Linked DNA regions of Homo sapiens: all the other regions are linked to region 6. The links are contacts of gene promoters, found by promoter capture Hi-C in blood cells and fetal thymus (Javierre and others, 2016). All regions are on one chromosome and are shown on one strand. The core of a region is centred on a gene start or on the middle of the fragment in contact, and the rest is flanking DNA. Distances in the headings are between cores, read along the strand shown.

Region 1 (4,953 bases), core at 1,556-4,055, 350 kb after region 6:
AGTATTAATTAGTATTAATACTATTAATAAGTATTCAATAAAGGAGAGTCTCCCACTTTCTTTCCTTCCACTCTGTTTTCCATAAATTAACCAGAGATAAAAGTGGTGGAATTAGACTTCAGTCCTGTAATGGTGCACCTGAAGTGCTTCCTCTCAATTCATATCCATCTTCCAGATTGCTTGTTGTACCCATATTTTCTGTTAACACAAATTGGAGGGAGTATCATGACTTTCATTTGTTGACAGATACACAAATGGGCAGAACACAATGATGAATGTCTCAATTCAGACAGGAATTGAATGTTGCCTGTGGGGTAGGCTGGCTCTGCCACCTGCACTGACAATACATCATCCCTGGAAATTAACCCATCTTCACCATAGCCATTGAAATGGAAAGAAGTGCTTGTTCATTAAAAACACCTTCAAATGGAAAGGATGAAGGTCTAGCGTAGTATATATGGTGCATTAATATCTATAATCATGTTTAATTTGCATTAGTCTAACTCTGCCACTTGGAAACTGTTTTTAAGATATTGTGTTGCCTGAATGGGTTTGTGTATGCATTATTTGCTTCTTGAATAAGAGCTGAACAGAAGCTAATAGCTTTATATAAAATATAGTGATTACCAAATTCAAGAGTCAATGTCCTGTTTCACATTCATTCTTGCTCACTTTTAGTACAAGCTTATGCATCATCAGGCATGTTGTATACAAAAATAATGATGTGGGTCCTGGTCTTTATAGGTCTAATGGGTGGTAGTTCCATATTTCTGTAAATTTTAAAAGCATTATTACTCACTAAATATGGATCATTTTAAAATAATTAGATATATGTATGAATAGGCTTCATATCACAAAGTTTTATTTTCTTTGTTAAGGATATGAATCCTAATGTCTTTACTATTGAATCTGCTAATTCAAATAATATCTATCAGTAGGTAGATGAGCTAAACACTAAGCCTGTATGTCAAATTTTATACACGATATTATGCTTAGATGCATACATAGCAAAACCAATATTTACAATATATTGGTGTACAAACAATATATTGGTGTAAAAAAATGATTAGTGCTTCATCAAGTTAATACATTCAGGTATCATAATTATGTATTATTTCATAGTGTATCAACAAGGAGAAGAGAAACTAGTTATTTCAAGCAGGAAGTGATTTAATTTAGGGAAATAGATTCTATAACAGAAAGAATTAATGTTTACCAAACACTATATTGTTCTCCCGTTCTCTCTTGCTGTTAATTGGGACCCTGTGATAGTCCTGGCTGAAGGACTGTGAAGGGGAGGGAAGAATTAATATCCCAGGGCCTAACTGGTTAAGAGCTTGTGTGCCTCTTTCAACCCTCACTTTCCCTGGAATAAACCTTGGAGCTATATGTTGAAATAGAAAATAAAAATATGGATGAATCTTGGTCGTCTGAGTCACCAGATAGAGGAGATCTCTTGCCAATCTGCACGGGATTTTGCATGAACAAAAAGTCACCTTTTACTGGGATAAGCCACAGAAATTTCAGAGTTTTGTCTATTGAGACAGCTAGGGTTAGTTACTGTAAAAATACTAGGGCCTGGAAAAATGTTGGAAGGATTGAGAGAGGGAAGATCAGGTTGCAACTACTAGTATGCAGAAAATCATAAAGCATAGGAACTGCAGGAAACTGTCACCAATGATCTCAGCTGTCTACAGCACCAAAGTGAGTGGTCAGTAGGAAGATACTTGGAAGCTGTTAGCAAAAGCTCACATCTGGGGTCTACCCAAGTCCATGTGACTGCCTGTCTCAAAAGAGTAATAATAGTTCTATTTATCTTTTGTCTTTGAAACCTTGCATGAATGAGTCTAATTGTCTTAATTTAAACCATAACCCTGCTGGCAGAGATTCTAAGAAATGTAGTTCTCATGCTTCCAATCCCTATAATACTAAGGAGAGCGTAGAAGGAGAAAATGGTGTCAAATTGCCAAAAAAAAGAACCTGGCATATAGAAGTAGCCCAATTATTAGGTGATGACATGCCCCAGTTTGTCTGGGACAGTCCCAATTTATTCCTGTTGACCTAGAGTAATTTTTGATAGTACCCCGTTTCAATCTCAACATGTTCCCTGCTTGGACACTAAATTATATGGACATCGACCTATTAATAACATGATAAAAATACTTTATTTCATCAAAAAACACTTATTCAGGATATGCTAAGTGCTAATCATTGTGTGGGACATTGGTCAACAGAGGCATTTATGACCTTGGCATTCATGAAACTTAGAGTCGAATCTAGTGAATGATGGGAGCCTAAACAAGGCAATAGCTATGAGGATGGAGCAGAGGAGGCATACTCGAAAGAGGTTGAAGAACTAAATCATACAGGTCTTGATAACTAGCATACTGGTTAAGACCCTTAGGCTCTTACGTCAGACTATCCAGGTTTGAACACCAGCTCTATCACTTGTTGGGTATTTTAACTTGGGAATTTACCAACTAATCTCTGCCTCAACTTACAACTCTGTTAAATGGGAATTATAATAATACTTATAAGATTGTTGTGAAAATTAAATGAGATAAAAATTTATAAAGTTTATAAGAGGGCCTAAAATATAGTAAATGCTCAAGAAATATCATTATAGTGAAGAAATTGTGGTGGTTGTTGTTTTATAATGGCTGAATATGAGAGAACTGTTAAGAAAATCCTAGGTTTCTGACTTGAATATCTTGATGGATGGTTATGTAAAATAATAAATGCAGAAGAAGCTGATTTATGTGGGGGAAAATAGTGCATATAGTTTGAATGGATTGCTAGAAGAGTAAACAGAGGAATTGGCATTCTAATTTAAGTGGGGGAAGTAATGCATTTGGTTTGATTATGCTGAGTTTGAGGGACTGGTGGGAAATCCAAATGGCAAGGTCTGATAGCAGCTGAATAGTTAGAATTGGGGCTCAGATAAAGATCTGAGCTGAAATTTAGACTTGTGAGGTTTTTTTTTTTTTAAAAAAAAAACACTTCTATTTTAAGTTTAGGTGTGCAAGTACAGGTTTGTTACACAGGTAAACTTGTGTCATGGGGGTTTGTTATACAGATTATTTCATCACCCAGGTATTAAGCCTAGTACCCATTAGTTGTATTTCTGGATCCTCTCCCTCTTTCCACCATCTCACACCAGTCAGAATGGCTGTTATTAAAAAGTCAAAAGATTTGTGACTTTCTAGATGGTAGCTGAAGCCAAGGAAATTTGGGAGATGAATTAGAGAAGGTATTCAGAGTAGACCAGAACTTTAAAGGGCAGAGGAAAAGAAACATATGAGAAAGACAAGAAGGAATTGCCAGAAAAATAGAAGAGAAGCAGGCAAGTGATGTGAAGGAAGGCGAGGAAGGAGAGAAAGCCAGAAAGAACAGGGTGGACGATGGTGTTAAGTGTCAAGCACAAATCAAGAAGATGAGAACAGAAATGATTTCCACAGATTCAGCAATTGAGGGCTTTTGCTGATTTTAGTAAGAATAGATTCAGTGGAGTAGGGAAGGTGGAAGTCTTCTCAGGTCACCAAGGGTAGAGGTAAGAATGAGAAGAGAGAACATATAGATCATGAAATATTAATCTTCAGGGTGCTTGGCTGTGAAGGAAAGGAAAGGGTCAACTGGTGGCTAGAGGCTTTTTAAAAGCACAGCCTACAAGATCCTTTGGTCCTAGAGTTGCACAAAGGATTTGCAGACCAGGAAAGGTTTAGATAACATGACCACCAAAGTCTTCCCCATTTCAAAGTGTTTATTATTTCATGATTCTCTGCTTAATAAGTACCAAGGTTCAGCTTTTATTTTCACAGGTTGTTACCTGTAAAGAGGGTACAAAATCTGTTTTATCCTAACAAATTTAAGTTAGAATTTAGTTTGATCTTACGAGTCTTTAGGGAAATATATTTTAGGAGTCAAAATGTGTATCTGTACATAGTATATTTATGAATATTGTTCTTAATTTTTAATTCAGTACCTTTACAAATTATTTTATAATTGGTTCCTGTTTTCAACCAGTTGCTTGTGCTTATATATGCAATTTGTCTATTTTTTTCATATCTGTTTTCAGCTTCTCCCAAAGAATTATCATTAGGTCATAACACTGGGGGAGGTTTACTGAATGATCATTCTTTTCAAAGACTTTACCATTTCCCCCAGAGCCTTGGTTGGTTTATTGACTAGAGCAAAGCAGTTAGTTTGCTATTAGTGGAATAAGGTAGGCAAAGCATCTGGAAATGTTCTACCAGGAGGAGCCAGTGGCCTTGTTTTCGAAAAGTCCCAGGTCTCCCATCACTCCCTCCAGTCTTGCTAGGGCATGAAAGAATCAGAATTTATAACTGCATCATAATTCTGTACTACAGCCTTTCATCTGGGATCTTCTGTTTGGAAAGTCTCTTCAAATGTTTTCTTAGCCTCAAGGGAAAAATTTCTCCCAGAGATACCTCAATTTTGATCAAAAGCATTCACAAGTCCACTTTTAGTTTTTTCTCTACCAATTAAAGTCCTCTTAGCTTGGTAGATTAAAGCTCATAAAACTGGTTCCACTGGTTTATTAGAAAACTCACTTTAGCTAGAAGAGTCGAAGTTTTGATATACACAGACCCTAGAGAGCTAGGAAAATCTTACTTTTCTCCAAAGGATTCAAGTCCTATTATTTAATTTTCATCTGATTTTGGCCAAGTTCAGATTTTTGCTGACTGTGTAACATAGCCTATTCATTTCAGCTACAAATAGTTCTCTTTTGTTTCCATTTACTTAGAAATTAACAAAATATTGCCATCATTTTATGTGTTTTCATAAATGTATTTAAAGCCTTTTATAATTATGATATTTAAATATTCTGTTTTTAAATTCCAAATAACATTAGTTGAGAGATGCATCTTTGACATAAAAAAAAATTTCAGGAGAAAAATTTCTTGTAAAAGCTTCTCAATGAGTGTATACATT
Region 2 (5,054 bases), core at 801-3,300, 330 kb after region 6:
TAGATGCTAAAATCCTCAACAAAATACTAGCAAACTGAATCCAACAGCATATCAAAAAGATACTTCACCATGATCAAGTGGGTTTCATACTAGGGATGCAGGGTTGATTTAAGAGACATAAGTCAATAAATATGATACATCACATAAACAGAATTAAAAACAAAAATCACATGATCATCTTAATAGATGCAGAAGAAGCATTTGACAAAATCCAGCATCGCTTTATGATTAAAACCCTGAGCAAAATTGGCATAGAAGGGACATACCTTGAGGTAATAATAGCCATCTACAACAAACAGATAACATTATACTGAATAGGGAAAGTTGAAAGCATTCCCCCTGAGAACTGGAACAAGACAAGGATTCCCATTTTCACCACTTCTATTCAACATAGAATTGGAAGTCCTAGCTAGAGTCATCAGACAAGAAAAAGATATCAAGTGCATCCCAATCAGTAAAGAGGAAGTCAAACTGTCACTGTTTGCTGATGATATGATTGTATATGTAGAAAACCCTAAAGACTCATCCAAAAAGCTCCTAAAACTAGCAAATGAATTCAGCAAAGGTTCAGGATACAAAATTAATGTACACAAATCACTAGCTCTTCTATATACCAACAGCAACCAAGCTGAGAATCAAATTAAGAACTCAACCCCTTTCACAATAGCTGACAAAAAAAAAAAAAAAAAAAAAAAAACCTTAGGATTATACCTAACCAAGGACGTGAAAGACCTCTACGAGTAAAACTAAAAAGCTCTGCTGAAAGAAATCATAGATGACACAAGCAAATGGAAACACATCCCATGCTCATGGATGGGTAGCATCAATATTATGAAAATGACCATACTGCCAAAAGCAATCTACAAATTCATTGCAATTCCCATCAAAATACCACCATCATTCTTCAAGAAGTAGAAAAAACATCCTAAAATTAATATGGAACCAAAAAAGAGCCCGCATAGCCAAAGCAAGACCAAGCAAAAAGAACAAATCTGGAAGCATCACATTACCCTACTTCAAACTAAACTATAAGGCCTTAGACACCAAAACAGCATGGTACTGGTATAAAAATAGGCATATAGACCAATGGAAGAGAAGAAAGAACCCAGAAATAAAGCCAAATACTTACAGCCAACTGATCTTTGACAAAGCAAACAAAAACATAAAGTGGAGAAAAGACGCCTATTCAATAAATGGTGCTGGGATAATTGGCAAGCCACATGTAGGAGAATGAAACTGGATCCTCATCTCTTACCTTACATAAAAATTAACTCAAGATGGAACAAAAACTTAAATCTAAGACCTGAAACCACACAGATTCTAGAAGATAAAATTGGAAAAAGTCTTCTAGACATTGGCTTAGGCAAAGACTTCATGACCAGGAACCCAAAAGCAAATGCAACAAAAACAAAGATAGACATATGGGACTCAATTAAACTAAAAAGCTTCTGCACAACAAAAGAAATCATCAGCAGAGTTAACAGATAACCACAGAGTGGGAGAAAATCTTTACAATCTATACATCTTACAAAGGACTAATATCCAGAATCTAAGAACTCAAATAAGCAAGAGAATAACAAATAATCCCATCAAAAAAGGGCTAAGGACATGAATAGACAATTCTCAAAAGAAGATATACAAATGGCCAACAAGCGTATGGAAGAATGCTCAACATCACTAATAATGAGGGAAATGCAAATCAAAAACACAATGCAATACCACCTCACACCTGCAAGAATATCCGTAATCAAAAAAAAAAAAAAATAGATGTTGGCAGGGATGCAGTAAAAAGGGAACACTTTTACACTGATGGTGGGAATGTAAACTGGTACAAGCACTGCGGAAAACAGTGTGGATAATCTTTAAAGAACTGAAAGCAGATCTACATTTAATCCAGCCATCTCACTACTAGGTATCTACCCAGAGGAAAAGAAGTCAGTATATGAAAAAGATGCTTGCCCACTCATGTTTATAGCAGCATGATTTGCAATTGCAAAACCATGGAAGCAGCCCAAATGACCATCAATCAATGATGGGTATATATATATCATGGAATATTACTCAGCCACAAAAAGGAACAAAATAATGGCATTCACAGCAACCTGGATGTAATTGCAGACCATCATTCTAAATGAATTAACTCAGGAATGGAAAATCAAACATCGTATGTTCTCATCCACATGTGGGAGCTAAGCTATGAGGATGCAAATGCATAAGAATGATACATTGGACTTTGGGGACTCAAGGGAAAGGATGGGGGACAGCAAAGGATAAAAGACTGCACATTGGGTGCAGTGTATACTTCTCAGTTGATGAGTGCACCAGAATCTCAGAAATTACCACTAAATAACTTACTCATGTAACCAAACACCACCTGTTCCCCAAAAACCTATTGAAATAAAAAAAAATTTTTTAAAAGAATTTGTTCCTTTCCTTTTTTTAATTACATGTAAAACTAGGTTTATGGCCATGGGGCATCTGTGACTCCTCCTCTTTTTCTTTAGAGATGATCTTCTCATTTTTTATTCTGATATGTTATTTCCTCTAGCGGCAACTTATGTTAGTGAATGGCTTTTCTGTAAGACCCATGGCAGATACATATTTTTTTTTCTGCTGGGAATTGCTGAGAGCTTTTCCTAAGGTTTGAACACATTTAGAAGCTTCACTAACACACTCAACAACCTTATGTCTCATCAGTTTACATAGACATTTCTACTAGGATGTGTAAAAAGACAAATTGTGTGTAAATTGATTTGCAAAATACATCTGTGAGATAAAGCAAGATTTGTTTACAATGAGTCACTTAGAATGTGGTCTACCTTTTAGTCTGGATTTGGTATGAGAGATTCCATAGTCATTTTAGAGCCTTAGGCTACATGAATATTGCTGTTGTTATTGTATCATTTAGTTAGAATATACAATTTCTGTGCAAAAGTAGACACCACCCAGGGTATACAGCATAATAATGACCAGTTCTTTTCTATCTGACAGTCTGGAAGGGTGGCAGATGAATGCTATGAGAGGGCCCCCTTTTCTACAGCATGCTTAGCTTCCTCCCCGATGTATGCTTTGATTTGGCCTTAGAAAGTGAAGGCATGTGGTTGTAAAGGAAGCGGAAGCTTAAGAAATTGGTATCATTTATCCTGGAGAATAAGGGCCATAGAAAATCTTACTAATGGTATCCTTAGTGCCCCAGTGGATTTCCTCCCACCCAAGAATGGAATACATACAAATCCATGGTAGGGCTGTCTGGAAAACCTAGGCTACCTTATTGCAATGGTATCATCACTGTATCACACACTTGGCTCACAAGGAGACGTCTTATTTCAATAAGAAGCTTTGACTGCCCACTTCATGTCAGGCAAATAATATGGACAGGACACAGTTCCTTGCGTCAAGGAGCTCATAGTCAGGCAACAATGGCTTCACATGGATAGAGGCATTTAAACCAGGCCTTGAAAAGTTAGGAAGTGGTAAAAAAAAAAAAGAACAAATTAGAACTCATGAAAGTACATAGTTTGAGGAGTAGAAGATGTCTTCATAAATCTAGAGTAATGGGTGAGTGAGGAGGGGGTGGGAAACGAGTAAAGTGAAGGATGAGAGTTTGTGAAGGGTACTGGATGCAAAGCTAAAGGTTGGAGTTGGTGCTATAGGCAGCAGGCACCACTGAGGATTTTAAGCATGATAGGACTTCTTTCTAAAATAGGGATATCACATTGACTATTTTAACTGCTAAAGTACTATGATAAATAGAATAGAGATACAGAAAAACAGAGTAGGGAGATCCCAGTTATACTGAGCCTAGAGAACTACAGCTTTGGAGTTGCTTAGCAAATTTTATTTGCTGTGGTGGATGAGCCAGCTTCTACTTCTCTATGTTAAATATACCAAAGAGGAAGTGATGGGGTTTCCAGGGATGCTGTGTTCTTCGCCTACACGCTTCTCTGCATCATGCTAATGCTGCATTTTGCAAAAGCTGTGGTTTACCCAGCTTCCAATGAATTTTGTTCCAGTAAACTTGCCTAAAAACAGAAGTCTGCAAAAAATAAGAAAATATGCTATGAACATCTGATCGGACCTTTATGGTTAACTGGGTTTTTTTAATTGCCGTGGAACGTAAGGGTTTAGTTAGTCTATTCTTAGGCTCCTCGACTCCTGCAAACATTCTCAAAAATAAGCACTAGGAAAAGAACGTTTCTACTGGGTATGTGACAGGATAAAGAAAGTATTGAGGGAAGTTGATTATTATAAGAGTACTTATTTATAATCCTGCTCGTGCCCTCCTCATATTAGATAATCATTATCGATGAGCTGATGCTTGGCCCATGTGCTTGCCTGACACTAGCATTTTCAGACTACATGTGACCCAGATCTCACTGATTTTTCAACCTTTAAGTCCTCCTTTCTTAATCCTTAAATAATTCAAAATCTCTAGGTAAGTGAGAGGCAGCATGGATAGTAGAATAAGCATGTGCTCTATGTTAGAACATCTTGGATTCCAATCCTTCTGTGCTATCTAGTAGTTGTATTTTCCTGGACAAATTATTTAACATTCTATCATTATATATAGATTTTGAAACAGAGTCTCGCTCTGTTGCCCAGGCTGGAGTGCAGTGGCACAATCTTGGCTCACTGCAACCTCCGCCTCCTGGGTTCAAGTGATTCTTGTACCTCAGCCTCCAGAGTAGCTGGGATTTCAGGCACACACCACTATGCCCAACTAATTTTTGTATTTTTGGTAGAGACGGGGTTTCACCCTGTTGGCCAGGCTGGTCTCAAACTCCTGGTCTCAAGTGATCTGCCCACCTCGGCCTCCCAAAGTGCTGGGATTACAGGCATTAGCCACCGTGCCCAGCCTAAATTATTTAACATTTTAAATCTCAGTTTTCTCTTTTTACAATGGGAACAATTTATCTTCAGTTCTTGATAGGATAATTTGAAATAATATACACAGTAACTGGCCCCTGCTAAGCCATCAATAATAGTAACTATTATTATCAGATTCTAATTGCCAAAACAGCAGGTTGGATGTTCCAGGAGAGGTTATAATCCCA
Region 3 (5,025 bases), core at 523-3,022, 480 kb after region 6:
CATAGAAAAGATGAGATGGAATTTGAAAAGAAAAACCTCATATGAAATGAAAGGAAGAAAGGAACAGTGAAAGAATAAAGAATAAGGTACAAAAAAATCAAGATGATATAATACAAACTCAATATATCAGTAATTACATTAGGCATAAATAGACTAACCATGCCCCATTAAAAGACAGAAATCGTCAAACTGAATAAAAAAAGCAAGATTCAGTTATATGCTATTTACAAAAAAAATATTTTAAATATAAAAATAGCTAGGTTAGATATAAATGGATAGAAAAAGATATACAGCAAATTCTGTATACGTGAAGGCTGTCATAATTGTACTATCTGAAAAAGTTGGCTTCAAAATAGAGAACATTATTAGAGAGGAGGAGGGACATTTTATAATGGTAAAATAATCTATTCATCAATAAGACACAGTGATCTTAAAAGTAAATTCACTCGCCGAGGTGGGCAGATCACAACAAGGTCAGGAGTTTGAGACCAGCCTGGCCAACATGGTGAAACCCCATCTCTACTAAAGAAAAACAAAAATTAGATGGACTTGGTGGTGGACACCTGTAATCCCAGCTGCTCTGGAGGCTGAGGCAGGAGAATCGTTTGAGCTGGGGAGGTGGAGGTTGCAGTGAGCCGAGATTGCACCATTGCACTCCAGCCTGGGCGACAGAGCAAGACTCCGTCTCAAAAAAAAAAAAAAAAAAAAAAAAAAGTAAATTCATTCAATTACAAGCTTTGAAAACTACATGAAGAAAAAACTGACAGAATTGAAAGAATACACACATCTATAGTTGTGGCTGGAAATTTCAACACTTCTCAGCAGTTGTTAGAACAAGTAGCTGGAAAGTCTGGATATGGAAGATTCAAACAATACTATCAATCAACTTGATCAAATTGATATTACAGAACACTGCATTCAACAACAGCAGGGTGTACATTCTTTTTAAGTGCACATGGGGTATTCACCATGATAGACTATATGCTGGGTTATAAAAGCTTCTCAACAAATTTAAAAGGATTAAAATTATATGAGGTCTGTTTGTTGACCACCATGGAATTGGGTAAGAAGTCAAAAGCATTAAGATATCAAGAAAATTCCCAAATACTTGGAAATTAAATATCACACTTCTAAATAAGCCATAGATCAAAGAAGAAATCACCAGGAAATTAGAATTTATTTGAACCTTATTGATAATAAAAACACAATATATCCCAGTGTATGGGATGAAGCTAAAGCAGTGCTTAGATGGAAATGTGTAGGTTAAATGCTTATGTTAGAAAAGAAGAAAGTTCTAAAATCAGTGATCTAGCTTCCACATTAAGAAGCTAACAACAACAACAAAAATACTAACCTTAAGTACGTAGAAAAAAGTAGAAATCAATGAAATAGAAAATAATAAATAATAGAGAAAATCAATGAATTTTAAAACGGACTTTTTGAAACAAAGCTATAAAACTGATAAACTATCAAGCTGGTCAAGAAAAAAGAGAAGATGCAAACTGGCAATCTCAGGTGTGAAACAGGACACATGACTACACATACGTCATTAAAAGGGCACTAAAGGACTCTAATGAACAAACATATACAAAAAATTCAACAACGCAGATGACATGCATAAATTCCTTAAAAGACAAATTGCTAATACTGATTCAAGAAGAAATAAAAAACCTAAATACTCCTATAAATTAAATGAATTGAATTCATAAGTAAAAGCCTTTACTCAAAGAAAACCCCAGGCCCAGGTAGTTCCCTAATTAATTCTGTGAACCATTTAAAGGATAAATAATAACATGACTATGCAAACTTTAAGAAAACAGAGAAAGAGGTAAATACTTCCCAACTCATTTTATAAGGCGTGTATGACACTGATATCAAAACCAAAGATATGGTAAGAAAACTATAGACCAATATCCTTCATAAATATAGACACAAAAATTCTTAACAAAATATAAGCAAATTAAATTCAGCCATATGTAAACTGGATAATATACTATGTTCAAGTGGCATTTATCTTAGAAATTTAAGGTTGGTTTAATATTTTTAAATCGATCAATATAATTTACCACATTAACATAATAAAGGAAAGAGTATGATCATTTCAGGAGGTGCATAAAAAGCATTGCACAAAATTCAACACCCATTCATAATAATGACTTTTGGAAAATTAGGAATAGTGACAGCTTCCTCGACCTGTTAAAAGGCAGTGATGTCAAATCTTCAGTTTAATTATGAAAGAGTGAATGCTTTCCTACTACGATGGGGAATAAGACAAAGATTCCCGTTCTCACCACTTCTATTTAAACATCATATTGCAAGTACCAACTAGTATAATTAGACAAGATAAAGAAATCAAAGATTACAGATTGCAAAGGAAGTAGTAAAATTATTATTATGAATAAACAACAGAATTGTGTACTGTCAACCTAAATAACTAAAAGAGAGGGGCTCTGTGAAAGAAAGATGTTTATCTGGGAATAGAGCTTTGCAATGGAAATACCTAGGCTGTAGTTAACTATGTGTGTATTCAGGGAGGTAAAGGAAGACAAAGCTTTTTCAAGGAAAAAATGAGGAAGATTACATAATTGTTTTAAAATAATTATCCTTGACTACAAAGATCAATAAGAAGGGTGCGATGGGTACGCTAAAAGCCCAGACCTCACAACTGCACAATATATACACGTCTTCTGCACTTGTACCCACTAACCCTATAATTTAAAAAAATAATAATAAAAAATAGCAAGAGTGACACCTTCTGAGGTTGGACAGGTAGCTGCTGGGCAGATGTACTTACAGAAGTAAGTTTTATGCAAAGTCTTGATGGTCTCTGTGCAAAGTTGTGGTTTTAGCGGTCTTTTTTGTTATCAGGCATGCAAGCATGAGAACCCTCTCTTCGTGACCTTCCCTAGCTGTATTTGTTTGGGTTTTCATAACATTTATGCCTTCATTTTTATTCTGATAACTTTCACAGTACATAGAAAATCCTAAGAAAACTACAAACATATGCTGCTAGAAGCAAGAAGTAAACTTAGCAAGGTCACAATATACAAAATTAAAGTTTATGTCTGTATACTAAAAACTAGCAAATAATATTTTAAAAAATAACATCAAAGAACATGAAATACTCAAGAATAATTTTAATAAAATACATGTAAAATTTAGGAGATTTTTAAGCAGACTTAAATAAATGAAAGAAAAATTTTGAAAAGGAGAAAAAAAATTTGAGGACTTACTCTGATTTCAAAAACTTTCATCTACAATAATCAAAGTCATGTGGTATTGGCATATTGGCATAAGAATAGACAGATCAGTGGAATAGAATAGGTCTATGCGTATATGGTCACTTAATTTTTTACAAAAGTACAAGGTTATTCAACGGGAAAAGGATAGTCTTTACAACAAATAGTGTTAAAACAGATATCCTTAAGGGGAAAAAAATGAACCTTAGCCCTTATCTCATACCCTGCACAAAAATTAACTCAAAATGGATCATAAACCTAAATGTAAAATCTTAAACTATGATAATTATAGAAGAAAATATAGGAGAAAAATCTTTTGACCTCAGGTTAGGTAAAGATTTCTTAGATTACTAAAGGAACTAACCATTTAAAGAAATTGATAAGTTGGACATCATCGTAAGTAAAATTTCCACTCTTTGGAAGATATCATTAAGAAAATGAAAGGCAAGCCACAGAGGAGAAAATACAATACATACGTCTGACAAAGGACTTGTAACTCTCACAACTCAATTAAAAGGAGACTAACAAGAAAAAATGAGCAAAATATTTTAACAAACATTTCACAAACAAGATACACCAATCCCCAGTAAGTACATGAAAAGGTGCTTGAGATCATTAGTCATCATTGAAATACAAATTAAGGCTAGGTGTGGTGGCTCCCAACACTTTGGGAGGCCAAGGCCAGCAGATCACTTGAGGTCAGGAGTTTGAGACCAGCCTGGCCAACATGGTGAAACCCCCATCTCTACAAAAAATACAAAAATTAGCCAGGCGTGGTGGCACGCACCTGTAGTCCCAGCTACTCAGGAGGCTGAGGCACGGGAATTACTTGAACCTGGGAAGTGAAGGCTGCAGTAAGCCGAGATTTCGCCACTGCACTCCAGCGTGGGTGACAGAGCAAGACTCCATCCCAAAAAAAATGAAAAAAAGAAAAAGAAATACAAATTAAAACCAAGACAAGACATTGCTAACATTCACTAAAATGTCCAAAACAAACAAACTATGCAATAATGTGGATGAATTCCCAAATCATTATGCTGAGCAAAAGAAGCCAGACACAAGAGATCACACTGTATGATTCCTTTCAGGCAAAAGTATAGGAAAGGCAAGCCTAATCAATAGTGACAGGAATCAAACCAATGGTTGCCCGAGACGGGGGTGGGAAGGAATGGACTGAAAAGGACCATGAGTGAATTTTTAGGAGTGATGGAAATGTTCTGTGTCTTATTGCTGTAGTAGTCACACAGGTGTGTTCATTCGCCAAAACTTGTCAAATATACACTTAGAATGAGTATTTTCTATTCTATTCAAATTTTGCATAAAAAGAAGCAGCTATTTTGTTGTTCATGATAGAAGCAATATTAGCACTTACTGTTCTCTAGCTCTTTCCCAAGGTTTTGCAGCACTATGAATTCCTTTAGTCACTCAGAGAATTAGGAAATTAGCATGGGTTGTTTTGATCTGATTGGGCATCACAATAGGAACTGACCTTTCTGTCTTCTGAGCTCTAACTTTGGATCTCATGTTTTGCTCCTGGTGTGTAAGTCCTAGCTCTCCTATTTGGGCCTCCTTAAGGGTGGGTGCTTGGTGCAACTGTCATAGTCCTTTGCTTAAAACTTTCTCCTTGGCCAGGCACAGTGGCTCAAGCCTGTAATCCCAGCACTTTGGGAGGCCAAGGCAGGTGGATCACCTGAGGTTAGGAGTTCAAGACCAGCCTGGCCAACTCGGTGAAACCTCGTTTCTACTAAAAATACAAAAATTAGCCAGGTGTGGTAGCAGGCACCTG
Region 4 (4,612 bases), core at 2,113-4,612, 320 kb before region 6:
TTTCTATCTGTCTCCTCCACACTGCACTCCTTGCTCAGAGAGAATAAGTTGAAGTCATCTTTTGGCCCCACTGTCTCAAGCACCGTGCCTGGTGCATAGGAAGCACTCGGCAGCTTCGTGGAGAATAAAGGAGTGAGTTCAAGAGACAAAAACTTGCGACATGCAGGTGGCTGGGGGGCAAACATACAAAGACAGGAAGCTGTGAGAGTGCCCAGTGGCTCAGGAAGGTGGTGACCTGTTTGAGGAGTGACAGTGAAGAGTTGGATGAAGAGTAGGACAGGGTCCCCTGCTTAGGAAGGGCTTTGTGCGGCTGTAGTTGCAGCCCCAGCAATTTTCAAGCGGGGAAACAATGTGGTCTGATCTGTGTCTCATGGGGAAACACCATGGAGGCTGGGAGAGTCTAGAGGGAAGATGGGTTGGGGGGAAGAAGTACAGTCAGAGGTGCTGCCAGGCCTAGTTGACAAGTAACTGAAGCTGAACCAAGGCAGAGGCATTGAAGATGCAGAGGAAGGGCTGGATCTGAGAGTTGTTTAAGGAATGTGCTCAACAGGATGCCATTCCTCTTGTGGTAGCTGGGAGGGGACTTGAGTGCCACTCCAAAGGTTCTAACTGGTGCCACTGGGTGGCCACCAGTGCTAGCGACAGATTGGAGGATATAGGAGAAGCCCATTGAAAGGAGGAGGTGAATTTGGTTCAGGGGATTTGGGTTTGAGGAACCTTTAGAATTTACAGGTGGAAGTGTCCTGTTTTATGGGAAATTCTAATCTGTCAATAACACTGGAAGGATTTGGTCGTTGGTGGAAATAAAATACTTGGGAGGAGCCCATGTGGAGGGTGCAGTTGGAGTCCTGGGATTAGGTTAAGAGCTCAGGGAACATGCCTCTGGGAGAGGAGCTGACTGAGGCTGGGATACCTTAATAAGAGGTCAGGCCGGGGACGATGAGCAGGATTTTGAAGACAGGCAGAATCTCTGATTAGACTTACAGGATGAGACATGAGAGAGGGACGTCGCCCGAAAAGAGGCCCTGAGACAGGATGATTAGGGGTCTCCACTGCCTCCCTTTAAAGAAGAACAGAAACAAGGTCCTGGCACTTTTTAAAATATTCCTGACCTTTATTATAAAGAGCAAGATTGATCGCAGACTCAGGAGTAGAGGCGAACATTATTCAATAAGAGAGCTTCAAGTTACACCATGCCTTCTGCCCCACTCAGAAAAGCAAAGCCCCTAATTACTCCCCTGGCCTGGTAAGAGAGCGCACACGGAGCTTGAGATTAATGCAGAAGCAAAGATCCCGGGTGCTGGTTAATAAGCTTTTCCAGGAGCGTGGTTGTCTGCTCGGCCGTCATTAATTTGAATGCTCATTACCATAATGTAGAAGCCAAGCTGGGGTCCTGCGCCCTCCTTGCCGCCAGCCCCGTGGTCCTGGACAGCCTGGCTCTCATCCCACGTAGTTTCTTCTCGCCCCCCCGCCCTTTCTTTAAACGAAGTGTGCAATTGCTATTTTAAATCTGAGCCTTGACATTTTCAGTGGGTACGTGCCTAGATTTCCACAGGTGTGATTGCAAACCTGTAAATTACCGGCTTCCGTTTGCTGGGACAAGTGTAAAATGGGCCTCTTTGTACGCAGGTGAAGTAGATTTGGCAATCACAACAGACCCTTTGTGTGACGATTGTGATGATAAGCACCTGTCGTTCTCCACTTGCCTGCTGTTTGCCGCTGGAGGGAGCGGCAGCTGCCACTGCCTGTCATATTGGGCCTGGGGCTGGGGAAGGGAAGAGCCCCGCGTGCCTGCCCTCTGGTGGTCAGAGTTTGCAATGACAGTCTAGTTGAGGGACCCGCCTCCCCACAGCCCTCTCGTTTGGGGAGGTGGAACCTAACCCCCCCAGTCCGCTGTGTGAAACCCAGAATGTTCTGTTTTGCTCTTTGTAAGGGGCCTAACGCATACACAGGCTTACACTCTGCAAATCATTTCTAGTCCTTCCCACTCTTTCCATGCCATGAAAATGGCACACTTAACGTTGGTATATCTAAGAAATCTGGGCAAGCATTAGAGTATGTTAAAGGTTGGAAGTCATTTTCACTTTGTAGTTTTAATGTATTCATTCGTGGCCTAATTTTTTGATGGATATGAGCTTTTTAATAAATCCCTAACCTGTAGGTATATGCCAGTTTGCACGTGGGTTTAGTAGGAAATGAACCAGTGGCGCTGCTTGTGCTTCTCACTCTCTCTCCACGCTGCCACTGTTCCTGCTTCCACGTAACTGGCACGGAAGAGGACAGCTAGCCAGAGTGTTGCTCTCCTTTCTTTTTTGGAACTAAGAAGGCACTGTGTATCCAGCAGCTGCCAGGAAATGTCGCTGATAAAGGAACTGGGCCAAAGCTCGACTGCAAGCTGCCATGATGAGAATTCACAGCCCCTGCCTTCCCGCCCTACCACCAGACTGTGGCTGTGCAGAGGAGAAGCTGCTGCTGTTCACTGTTCCCATGATGCTTTTCGTTCTCAGGGATGGATACATGGATGGAGAAATAAAGCTATATAGACATAAAGCCAATATTTGTATCAGTAGCCATCCCTTAAACCCAGATCCGGGGGTTTCAAGAGATCTGAGTTCCGGCTCCAATGTTCACCTCTCTGAGCTTTCATTCTTCTTCTGGAAAATGAGGGGCAATGAAATTAATGGTCTCTGAGGTGACCTTTTGGATCTAAAGTTATGATTCTTAGAACTAAAATTATTTCCTTGAGAAGGTCCCTCCATGCTCTCACAGCTGTCCCCACAGTTGGTGCAAGATGAGAGGGGTCCAGGAAAATGACAGGTGCCCAGGTGTCCACAGGAAATGCAGGGGGAGAGATGGAGGCTCAACAGCCAGGATGGCTTGATGTGAATGGGTTTCTAGAGTGAGGAATTTGGAAGGAGCTGGCAGTTGCCTTGTTTTGTTCTGGTTGCTTTGCTTGCAGTGGGGAAGGTGTGGCCGGGGAGATTCATGGCCCTGCTCTACCGCTCACCCTCCCTCCCTCCTGCCTTTGGTATGCAGTCCAGGCAGCTGGAGACTTTTCCTAAGCTTTGATTTTTTGACATGTTTTGAAACTTTGGATTCTTGTCTGTGCTTTTCTTTCCTTAAATTAGGGTATAATTTAGGGTGTGGGGGCAGGCCCAGTGAGTGGGGCAAGTGTGGAGTAGAGGTTGTCCCTGCCTCTGGGCACCCACAGGCCACACCCTCCTCATTCCACTCAGGGCCTTAAGAGCATCTTTATTTTCTCTTTGTTTTCCTATCCATATAACCAAGAAAAACAAAGCAATAAAAACTGGGGTCCACTCAAAAGCCTGGAAAAGCAAGGGCAGCCCTGTCCAGCTAAGCTCCCCACCCTCTACCCTGGGAGTGTTTGTCCGTGGGCCCTCAGGTGCCGCTGTGACCTCTTCCCCCTAGAAGCTGACACACTGAGTCCTCTTAGCGCTCTCCTGTGATGGGGAAGCCGGGAGAGAATGGACCCTGAAAATCAGAACTAGAACATAGAATCCTCTCTATCTTCTTCAACAGAACCCGCAAAGCTATCAAGAAAATGCATCCCACCATATTGCACATCTGAAAATTGTCTTTCTTGCTTTCTGATAGTAGAGTCACAGGTAGTAACTGTGGTCTCATCATAACCTTTGTTGTCAGAAGCTTTGGGTGTGCACCCTCCCCTTGAGGTCTGATCTCTGCCACGTCCAGCCGTTTTGTAACCGGCGTCCAGACGGCAGAAATGCATTGAACGGTCCTGCATTGATTCCCACTGAAACCCTGAAGTTCTGGGAAATTGAACTTTTTTGTGCAGCATCATTTGTTTTTCTCTTCCAGGCTTTCACCACTTTCCTCTGTCTGTACGGCATGATTTGGTATGCAGAACACTATGGTCACCGAGAAAAGGTATGGAAGGAGAGGCAGGCATGGCCATTGTTTAAAATAATCACCCCGGGCTCGGCAAATTCGCTCAGAGCACGTGCCTGTAAGGATATGGCGAGGTAAACACTGAGGTTGGGGCCTCCAGTCCTGCCACTGCAGAAACCGCATGTCACAACTCATTCCCTAGCCATTGCTGGCCCTGCTTGTGACGGCTCTGTTCAGTAGACCAATATTTTTGTCTAACTTTTGTTAGATAAAAAAAGTTATGTTTGTTTGGAGAAAAAAAGAAAAGTGATGGGAAAGCTGTGGACTGGCTTTTGGAAGCTGGGTTTTCTCCCCAGCTCTTGAACTGTGTGGAGGCCTCTTCCTGTGTTCCGGCCTGTGGCTCTTCTGGGCAAACGCTTGCCCTGACCTTCATTTAGTAGATATGAGGATACCATAGAAAATAGACATGAATGGCTTTAAGACACGATGGCCGTCTGGTAGACGGTAATATTTTTTTCGGTAAAAATAACACTTTCATCCTTTATTTACACCTTCAGTCTAAAGAACTTAAGGCATGTTGTGGAAGATTGATTCTGCATCACCTGTGAGAGGAAAGAACCTTGTTTTTATAGCAGAGAAATATAAGCACAGGGAGGTTCTGTCACTTGCCAGTGATGATCCCAGCCTGGGAGAGGCAGGGATGCAGCATGCTCGCCTTTTTGCCCTGCCACTTCTCCCAGGG
Region 5 (4,666 bases), core at 2,112-4,611, 310 kb after region 6:
TACAAAAATTAATTCAAGATGGATGAAAGACTTAAATGTTAGACCCAAAACCATAAAAACCCTAGGAGAAAACCTAGGCAATACTGTTCAGGACATAGGCATGGGCAAGGACTTCATGTCTAAAACACCAAAAGCAATGGCAACAAAAGCCAAAATCGACAAATGGGATCTAATTAAACTAAAGAGCTTCTGCACAGCAAAAGAAACTACCATCAGAGTGAACAGGCAACCTACAGAATGGGAGAAAATTTTTGCAATCTACTTATCTGACAAAGGGCTAATATCCAGAATCTACAATGAATTCTGTTATGTTTTTAAAATAATTATTCCTTATGGACTTTCAGTCTAAGCTAATTTTTATTTGTTCTCTCCAGCAGGTCTATCTTTATAACATTCAAGCTCCCCCTACTCCTTATCCTTGGAGTTCACTTTTATGGGGACAAAAGATGAGTTTTCTGTGCTTTGGAAAGCATGATTATGCTTCATGTTAGCTTTGGAATTAGAAGAAATCATTTTCGGACCATTTTTTTTGAGTTGTGATACACAAACATTATAAGGTTAATCAGCATTTTGGCTTATTAGTGGCCCTTGATTCTTAGGAAACTAAGATAATTCTCTTTTTCCTGCAGATGTGACATTTGACTATGAATATTGAAGTTAAACTTCAATTCATTGTATTGTAAATGGAAAAGAAGAGTTTTTCATTTTAGGTATATATACATAATACATATATTCTTTTCCTTGGCTCTCATCATGTTTATATTAGATACAAAACTAGTTAACATGTCTAGTCTGGCATTTTTCCTCCAAGATATATAAATTCTAATAAAAAATAAGACAAGATTGGGGAATGGGGATAATAGTATTCTTTTAAACAAGGATGCAAGAAAATGAAATGTTTAATTTTTGCAACATCTCCTTTCTAAAACAAAATATACTGATGGAAATTTGGCTTGTTTCCTAGAGTCTCAACACAGGAGTTATTAACTGCGATGACCGGGCTAATACTATGTGAGGTGGAGTATGATAAAAGGATTAAAAGCTAGAGGTACTGTGCTTGGATAGCAAGCTGGATGCTTGTGCAGGCATGGAGCCTTTCAAAGTAAAGTTGGCTCCTTGACACTCTGTCCTGCAGCTTGCGCTGATTTTTAAGATCATTGAAAATCAGGTCATTGAGAAGTCTTCTTTTAGGGATGTCTGTAACATTCTTTGACTGTCTTATGTTTAAGCTAGAATTTAAGCATCCAAATAAAAGTTGTTCTCAGGTGTCATCATCATAGGAAGCCATTCAGCTACCCTAAAGTTCACTAAAAAGTCCTGGAACTTGAGGTGATTGACTTCTGACTCCCCATTGTCAGTGTGGTCCAGGGACATGGCAGGCAGGAGCCAACTGCTTAAGGTAGAAATGCTTTGAGTAACTTTCATTTAAACTGCACAGACTATCATGGCTGGGTATTTTTCAAAGCTACATAGGGTTCTGGAATTTTAGAAACCATTAGGGGCCAAGAAGAATCTGTCAGCTTATAGATCTAAATGTTCAAAATTTAAGTTAAAGCCTGTTTCTTTTGGTAGGAAGCACCTTGACTCCCATTTTTTATAATGAAAGATTGATGATATCTCTATTAGCCTGTTTAAACTGAGCCATAAAAGAGTCTGTAGGAGGCCAGGTACAGTGGCTCATGCCTTTAATCTCAGCACTTTGGGAGGCTGAGGCAGGCAGATCACTTGAAGTCAGGAGTTCCAGACCAGGCCAACATGGTGAAAACCGGTATCTACTGAGAGTACAAAAATTAGCCAGGCCTGGTGGCACGTGCCTGTAATCCCAGCTACTCAGGAGGATGAGGCATGAGAATCACTTGAACCTGGGAGACAGAGGTTGCTGTGAGCCAAGATCACACCTCTGCACTCCGGCCTGGGTGACTGAGTGAAACTGTGTCTCAAAAAAACAAAAAAAAAAAAGTCTGTAGGGTACCAAATGCTTTTTTTTTTTTGGAGACAGGATCTGGCTCTGTGGTACATACTGGAGTGTAGTGGTGTGTTCATGGCTCACTGTAGCCACAGTCTTCTGGACTCAAGTATCCTCCTACCTCAGTCCACCTTCCCCTCTCCAGTAGCTGGGACTATAGACGTGCACCACTACACCCGGCTATTTTTTTTTTTCAATAGAGATGAGTTCTCACTACATTGTACAGGCTGGTCTTGAACTCCTGGCCTCAATTGATCCTCCCTCCTTGACTTCCCAAAGTGCTCAGATTACATGTGTGAGCCACCATGCTCGGCCTTCTTCTTTTCTAAAATCCCACCCACTTAGCATGACAAAGGCCTGGGACATAATGGTAAGTGAATAGTTGTAAGGAATGAGAAGTTTTAGCTGTGCACTGTACCATGCTTGGATTTGATTATGGGAAAGATGATCAATATTAACATAGAAGTTACCTAAACTCTCTGTGTCTTTTCCCTTACCTCAGGAAGTTCAAATACAATGTTGTAATTCAGCTCTTCTACTCTTCCTGTCCTCTCAAATGAGACAACTTATACTGTGGTTGCTGAGGCTAAATAGAGGAGGAATTCAAATACATGGTTCTTCTACTTAAGATCATCTCCAGTTGCATCAAATCATGACTTCTGGATGCAACCCAGTTGCCTCCATTTCATGAGAATGGTTTCCTTCCATAGACATTCTCTGCTGTTCCCCTATCATTGTCAAATCAATGTTTAATCAATTCCAGCCATTTCTTGCAAATCCACTGCAATCACATTTTATAAATCTACCTAGTGCTTGGTTTTCATGCGCCGCAGATAAATTAGGTCCTTCTTGTTTTATCCTGAGCTATCAGTCTAGTAACATGCTCACAGCATGCAACCAGGAATAGGCATGATCTCCTTTTTGTGAGTCTAATCTGAGTGTCCTTTACAAGTAAGAGGGGATAGTCTGAGAGTGGAAACAGCTCTTTTCAGGACCAGCTGGGTGATCCATGAGCATTTGAACAGATGGCCCATTTTTGTGGGAAAGGATTCTGTATCCTACAAGCTAACACCCAACAGCTTCACTGAAAAAAAAAAAAAAAGCTTGAAGATAAGAAATCAATTCAAGAGGAACCCACATGTTTGCTGTGTTGCCTCTGAACACACCCTGTATGTCAAGAGCTTAGCTTTATTCTGTAGACCACCTAGTCAGAATCATTGGGGAGGAAAATATTTGTTCAAACATAGTCCCTTTTGTCTGTGCTGGGCAATAGCACAATACATTCAGCAACCACCCTCTGAAAGCCAAGGCTTTGTCTCCAGTGGGGATTATGAAAACATGGATTTCTTGAGAAGTGCCTGCCCACCTGTGTTTAGATTTTAAATTTTAGGAAGATGCTTGACAGCCAGAAAAGAGGTGCTCAGGGAAAAGTCTGTTGAGATTATAGAGACTTTTTGAAAGACCATTACCTCCTTTAAAATGATTAGAATAGAAGAGGAATTCTTGAAAACTGGCATGGAATATCGTATTAGATGGAACCTTGGAAGGTTTTATTTATCCCTTCTCTTTTAGCTTTCTGTCTAAGGCCTCAGAATGTAGTCTATTTTAGAAAATCTCCAAGGCAGGAAATTTTTCATAACCTTTCCCCTGTTAGTCATTTTTTTTAACTTCAACAAAAGCCTGCATCAGAAGCTTCTTGCTCGCTTATATGACCCTAACGCTCACTGCTGCAGTCCAAGCCTGGCTTCCTTTGCACTTTCTTTTGCTGTTCATATTCTTCACAGTGGGACCTGTCTTAGCTGAAGCCCATTATTAGGTCACTCCTTGGCCTCTTCTCTAAGGCTAAATAATGAGTTATTTTTTTTTCTCCTTTTTTGGTACATCATATTTTTTCAACCATTTAATGATTTTTGTTGTTGAAAATTTGGGGATTTCCTGTGTCTGGAAATGCATTAGGCCTCAAACTTTGTACCCCTAAGACTTTTCCTGCTACCTTTTAAAAGACACCAAGTAAAATTAAGACTAGGAGAAGACAGCTGCTGCAATTTTTAAAAAATCACAAAAGCAAAAAAAAAAAAAAAAAAACCAAAAACACCGAGTAGCTGTCTTTCTGGTTTTTGATTGAGCAAGATATTTGTAAAATGAAGCATACTTTATTGTCAGATGGGCCTGTTGTTTACTGACAATTGACCAACATGAATGTGGTCAGGTTTAGATGAATATCTATACAACTCACATAATTTTTAATGAAGGGAGTTAAAAGCTAAGCATGCCAAGAAAATAAGTATGACTCAAAAGTGGCCCTTTCTTAGTATATTGGATGTATTATGGCTTCTAGTTACCAAGGGCCTTTGAAGATGACTGGGCCATTATTTTAATACTTTTTAATATGCTTCTGGATTCAATTATTGCAGATTTTTACAATTATATTTGATCTCTAGTTAGTTTATAAGGAGGACACTATCTTTGTCAGGTTTTAATATCAAGATTGTGATAGCTTTGTAAGTAAATGTAGATATTTTCTATACTTTTTCTTTGCTTTAGAACAGTTGAAATAGAACAAGATCAATCTGACATCTAATGTTTGGTTGAACTCACTTGTAAAACTGTCTGAGCCCCTTGACTTCCAAAGGTAGGTTTTTGATAATTCTTGCTATAGTTTAACATATCACACATATGGAAGACTTTATTTATCTATGT
Region 6 (4,517 bases), core at 54-2,553:
AGAAATTGTGAGTAAGCATTTAGAAATAAAAACAACAACAACAACCAATAATTGAAAAACTAATTTTATACTTTTTGGCATACTCATTGTACACTTGTAATAAAAACTGGGCTTGTAGTTTTTGTCTCTTTTCTTATTTGCTAGCAGGTTTTGATTTGTATTTTACAGAAATAATGGTCCATGTCAGATTGGAAATAATAAAAACTTGTCTTTTACCCTTGATAGTTTGAGAAAAAAGTAATTCAGTGGGGTTAGATATGGCATCCGAGAGATGATTCGGGAAAGGTGGGCCAGGGCCATGTTTATGTGGACCCTCCAATGCCTCAGAGTTCACACTTGTTTCAGTGGGCAACAGGACTAGTAAGGTTTAGAGGGACTGTTAACCGAAGGTGAGTGGACTTTGCACATTTTATGGTATTTTTTTTTTCCCAGTAGGCATGTGCTTATTCTTTCTTTTCTTTTCTAATTAAAAGTTCTGTTTGGTTTTTTTAGTTAAGAGGAGAGACTGGAACTGCTCAGTGTTTCACAAAGATAACTGTTTGTATTTGATAAGAGTTTCGTTAAACAAAGGAATTTGCACTTATCAAAACATAAAGCATTGAAAACACTGAGCACATACTCTGTGACCAGAATGCGTGTGACTTGTTGAGATAAGCCACACCGGGTAATCAGATGAGTCTCCTTTCTTCTTGGGCACCCTCATATAATTCAGGCACAAACGAAAGAGAAAACGCTTTTTCTGATCTCTCAGTTCGGGTCATCTCTGCCTTCCATCATCACCGCCTAACAATCCTACACCTGGCAGGGTGGGAAAACGGTTTAATAATCTCTTCCCTTTGGGAGGCGTTTGACAGCTCAGAAAGCATGGCCTTTACTCAGGCTCAGAGACACACAAAAACCTTTCACGTTTTCCTTTCAGCTTCGCAGCCCCGTCCTTCTCCACCTGCACGGGCACCCACTGAAGCACAGGACCCTTCTGCCAAGCCATGAGCCTTCTCAGGCCCCTGCCGCCCGCCTCGCCTGAGGCTGCGCTTCTGAAAAGCACGCGGCCCTGGCCTGCGCACCACCCAGTCTGAAGGCGACGCCCCTGCACGAAGGAGTCAGGCCTAGGGGCTCGGGACCCAGGGCGACACTCAATTTTCTAACAGGAGCCACAGCCCAGAAGCTGAGAAGCCTTCCGGCCGATCTGTGGCCCTGAGGTCGCCCTTGGAGGGCGAGTGAGAACCCCCCAGGCGTTCCGGAGGTGGCCCCCAGCCCGAACCCGGCGCCCGCCCCGGCTTCCCGAGTCAGGTCTTTGCCCCGCCTCTCGGCCCCGCGGCCTGGCCGGCAAGCAGGGCTGCAGTCACGGGGCGGCGCGGAGGGCCCCAGCCCAGTCAGGGGTGTGGCCGCCGCCACCGTAAGGCTAGGCCGCGAGCTTAGTCCTGGGAGCCGCCTCCGTCGCCGCCGTCAGAGCCGCCCTATCAGGTGTGTTTGCAGCCGAACTGGCAGTGCCCGCGGGCGGCTGGGCCGAGGCCTTGGCTCCTACCCGCGGGGGTCGGGCGGGCTGAGGCTGGAGCAGGCCAGGGGCGGGGGCAGAGGGGGACGGACTTCCAGCATCGCTCATTCGGGGGCGTGACGGGAGGACCTGGCTGGGGAGCGGCGGGTTGGGAGCCTGTGGCTGCCCCTTCGGTGACAGTGGAGTCACCGAGCCTAGAAATGGGGAAGCTGTGACGTGGGGGTGGTGGAGGGTGCTGCGGGACAGCAGCGAGCACGGCCCTCAGCCGTCCTTCCCAACACGGTTTCACTTCCCCTCAGCTCCAGGGCTCAGCCCCAAGCCGCCCCCTTCATCCCCCATCTGCAAACAATCCTGGTCCCCCTGAGCCTCCAATATGCCTTATGCAGTTCTTTTGGGGTTCCTTTCGCATTTTACCGTGTACTTTCGCTTTTGATGCGTCTAGTTTCTGCTACTGGACTCTCCTAGAATCGAAGTTCCATGAGGGCAAAGTCCCATCTGACTTAGGACTCAGAGCTACTCAATAAGTAATTGAATGAGTACCTATGCCGTAGAACTGAGTGAATTAACAAATGAGTAAGTGAATAAATGAGTGCATACGAGATACAGCTGAATCAATCAGTGCATGAGTGAAAATAAAGATGTATGAAGTGGAAGCAGTGGAGACGCAGGCTTACAACTCCTGTTTTTTGATAGCTTTCCAAAAAGTTGTGTGAATGTCGCACTTTTGCAAATGGAGGCATTCTGATTGGGACCACTTAAAAAGAGTTCTATGCTGTTCAAATGGTCTCTGGAAACGCCCCCTGGTATTTCCATTTTTGTTGGACTTGGCTATATGTGTTTGCTTAAAACAAAATATGCCTAGGTTTTTTCTTGCTTGTGTTTTGTTCACTTCTACTTTGGACGTTTAAAGAATCATTGTCACTATAATATTATTTCATGTATTTCTTAAAGATAAGGGTGACTCTGAAGGCAGAACCATATGACTCTGACTTGTTTGTAAAACCAGGCTTTTCTTTTGAATTCAGAGTTGTTAAGAATCTTGTCTGTTTTCCTGAGACAGGTGCTGGCTGATTTGCAGGTGACTGAAGAAGGCTACATAAGGCCCAGAAAGACGCTTATCTGTTTGTAAACAAATAGGCTTAGCACATAGCTTTAATACAGTTGGTCACTGCAGCCGTTCTTACTTGCCAGGTCCAGGTTCCAGAAGAGCTGGATGACCTTGGACTTGCCACTTGATCTCTTTAGGTTTTAATTTCTTAATCTCCAAAATGAAGATGTTTAGCTAGGAACCCTGCCTGAGTTAAACCTCTGGGATTCTTTTGTATCAGGGTTAGAAGGTGAAATTACAGATGATTTCATGGAGTTCTGCTTACTTCACCTCCCATAGCATTTTGTCTCTGCTCTCTTCTTTGCTGTTTACAGCTCATTTCCTTTCTTCTCCACATCTGCAACAAGAAAGCCTGGGAGCTCAAGATAAGTGTAATAAACCCTAGGCTGGTGGGGAGAAAGGAGGGTAAGATTTTCTTCTACATTGTCACAGGCTCCTGGTCCTGGGTCTGACTTTTTTCCAGTGCAACCCAGTCTGACAATGCCATATATTCCCAGTATATCTGGGGAACTGCATCACTATTTCTTCGCATGCATTTGAGATTAGTTATCATAGATCACATTTTGGAGCTGGAAGGACCTTGGAGATTTTTTAAAGGCACTTCAAAAGTCATTATACATACATATTTAAATATTTTTGCATGCTACATTTAACAAACACAAAGTTCCAAATGTGTTAAGTAAAATGAAATTAATGTTACCTACTTCAGTGAATTCAAGTTTATAAGGAGAAGTGGAATACACATGTTGCTTGGTGAAAAGGGCCAACTTTCTCACACTGTTTTCCCAATGAGGTCATGTGTCATACAGGCATGGAATGTTACAAAGCTGATATTTATGGGGCACTGACCATACACCAGGCACTGTTATATTTAACCTTTTTACTTATATTGCCCCATTTAATCATCACTATATATCTAAGAGCTAGATACTATGGTAAGTCCTATTTGATCTTCTTAACTAGAAACAGTACATGGAAAATGGGAGAGTTAGGACTCAAAACTCAAGCAGATGGAAACAGGGTTTCTCCCAGAAACAAGACAATCCTGCCAGGAAAAACTGTGTGACTTTGAAGAATGTGGTCTCTGTGTGTGTTCAAGCATATATACAAACCCTGGGTTATTTGGGTAAATGAATTTAGAATGAGAGCACAGGGTGAAATGATGAAGACTGAATTATAGGGGAGTTGGTTGTTTTATCATTTTGAAAATTATTGAATTCCATTGAGATTCCAGGAGACTCTGATACTTTGACCTAGGTGCCCATGCATCTTAATTTTAAATGTGTTCAGACTTACCAATTTAGGGAATATAAAATGAGTGACATCGACAGCTGCCATCAGTGAATGGCACTTAAGGGCTTTGAACCATGAGTGCTAAGCAGTGTTGTTTCTTGGACTAGCTTTGTGCCCTTGGTAAGGCACTGCCTCCCAACCTCTTTCTTTATAAGACCAACAACCCCTAGTATAGACAAAGAACAATGCCTACATCTGTGTAATCCAGAGACAAGAATGCAGGATGGGTTTCCAGAACCCTTATAATTAATTGAAGAGAGCAAAAGACGAAAAGAGAGGCCCATAAAATAAATGGGAAATTATTTTGTTTCTTTTTCGTCAGCCAAGTTTAGCCCCATGGAAAGCAGAGACCAGTTGTGGCCGCCTGAAAAACTAAGAGCTGATGCCAGTTTGATTTAGCTCAGGAGGCTGAAACTTTCTGCCCCGAAGGCTGGTGTGATGGAATAGACCTTCCCATTGCTCACAATATTATGAAAAAAACATTAAAGCAACAATTTTTATTACTTGCCCTGCAGCTAGAGCTTTAAAATGTACTTTCTTCTCCCCTACCCTCCCTAAACCACTTAGCTTTTAAAAACAAACAACCCATTCATGTGTTTGTTACAGTCACATTATTAGTTC

Evidence for each region. Contacts are between HindIII fragments. The CHiCAGO score rates a contact against its expected background, and 5 or more counts as called.
Region 1: a contact is called between a fragment that was not itself captured here and the fragment with the promoter of CPQ in region 6, in 2 of 17 cell types (monocytes and neutrophils). The highest score is 10.9, in monocytes.
Region 2: a fragment that was not itself captured here is called in contact with the fragment with the promoter of CPQ in region 6 in 3 of 17 cell types (neutrophils, monocytes and total B cells); the score reaches 9.1 in neutrophils.
Region 3: a fragment that was not itself captured here is called in contact with the fragment with the promoter of CPQ in region 6 in 2 of 17 cell types (monocytes and naive B cells); the score reaches 6.4 in monocytes.
Region 4: a fragment that was not itself captured here is called in contact with the fragment with the promoter of CPQ in region 6 in 1 of 17 cell types (neutrophils); the score reaches 5.8 in neutrophils.
Region 5: a fragment that was not itself captured here is called in contact with the fragment with the promoter of CPQ in region 6 in 2 of 17 cell types (monocytes and neutrophils); the score reaches 6.7 in monocytes.

Annotation. Positions count from the first base shown.
Region 1 is chr8:96,992,683-96,997,635 of GRCh38, forward strand. The region is part of intron 5 of CPQ (carboxypeptidase Q); the gene reads left to right. All of the region lies in intron 2 of LOC101927066 (a long non-coding RNA gene), which reads right to left. Among named protein-coding and RNA genes, the nearest start is that of TSPYL5, 280 kb to the right of the region's middle. The HindIII fragment of the contact is 4,247 bases long and covers 683-4,929 here.
Region 2 is chr8:96,975,576-96,980,629 of GRCh38, forward strand. All of the region lies in intron 5 of CPQ (carboxypeptidase Q), which reads left to right. The region is part of intron 2 of LOC101927066 (a long non-coding RNA gene); the gene reads right to left. Among named protein-coding and RNA genes, the nearest start is that of TSPYL5, 300 kb to the right of the region's middle. The HindIII fragment of the contact is 1,215 bases long and covers 1,444-2,658 here.
Region 3 is chr8:97,123,538-97,128,562 of GRCh38, forward strand. All of the region lies in intron 7 of CPQ (carboxypeptidase Q), which reads left to right. The region is part of intron 2 of LOC101927066 (a long non-coding RNA gene); the gene reads right to left. Among named protein-coding and RNA genes, the nearest start is that of TSPYL5, 150 kb to the right of the region's middle. The HindIII fragment of the contact is 1,553 bases long and covers 997-2,549 here.
Region 4 is chr8:96,326,373-96,330,984 of GRCh38, forward strand. PTDSS1 (phosphatidylserine synthase 1) reads left to right here. Exons shown (of 13, transcript NM_014754.3): 11 at 3,841-3,909. Among named protein-coding and RNA genes, the nearest start is that of PTDSS1, 67 kb to the left of the region's middle. RefSeq lists enhancers at 909-1,444, 1,445-1,980. The HindIII fragment of the contact is 603 bases long and covers 3,062-3,664 here.
Region 5 is chr8:96,955,860-96,960,525 of GRCh38, forward strand. The region is part of intron 4 of CPQ (carboxypeptidase Q); the gene reads left to right. All of the region lies in intron 2 of LOC101927066 (a long non-coding RNA gene), which reads right to left. Among named protein-coding and RNA genes, the nearest start is that of CPQ, 310 kb to the left of the region's middle. The HindIII fragment of the contact is 589 bases long and covers 3,068-3,656 here.
Region 6 is chr8:96,643,939-96,648,455 of GRCh38, forward strand. It overlaps CPQ (carboxypeptidase Q), which reads left to right and starts at 1,304. Exons shown (of 8, transcript NM_016134.4): 1 at 1,304-1,464. RefSeq lists a silencer at 1,179-1,728. The HindIII fragment of the contact is 6,363 bases long and covers 1-4,517 here.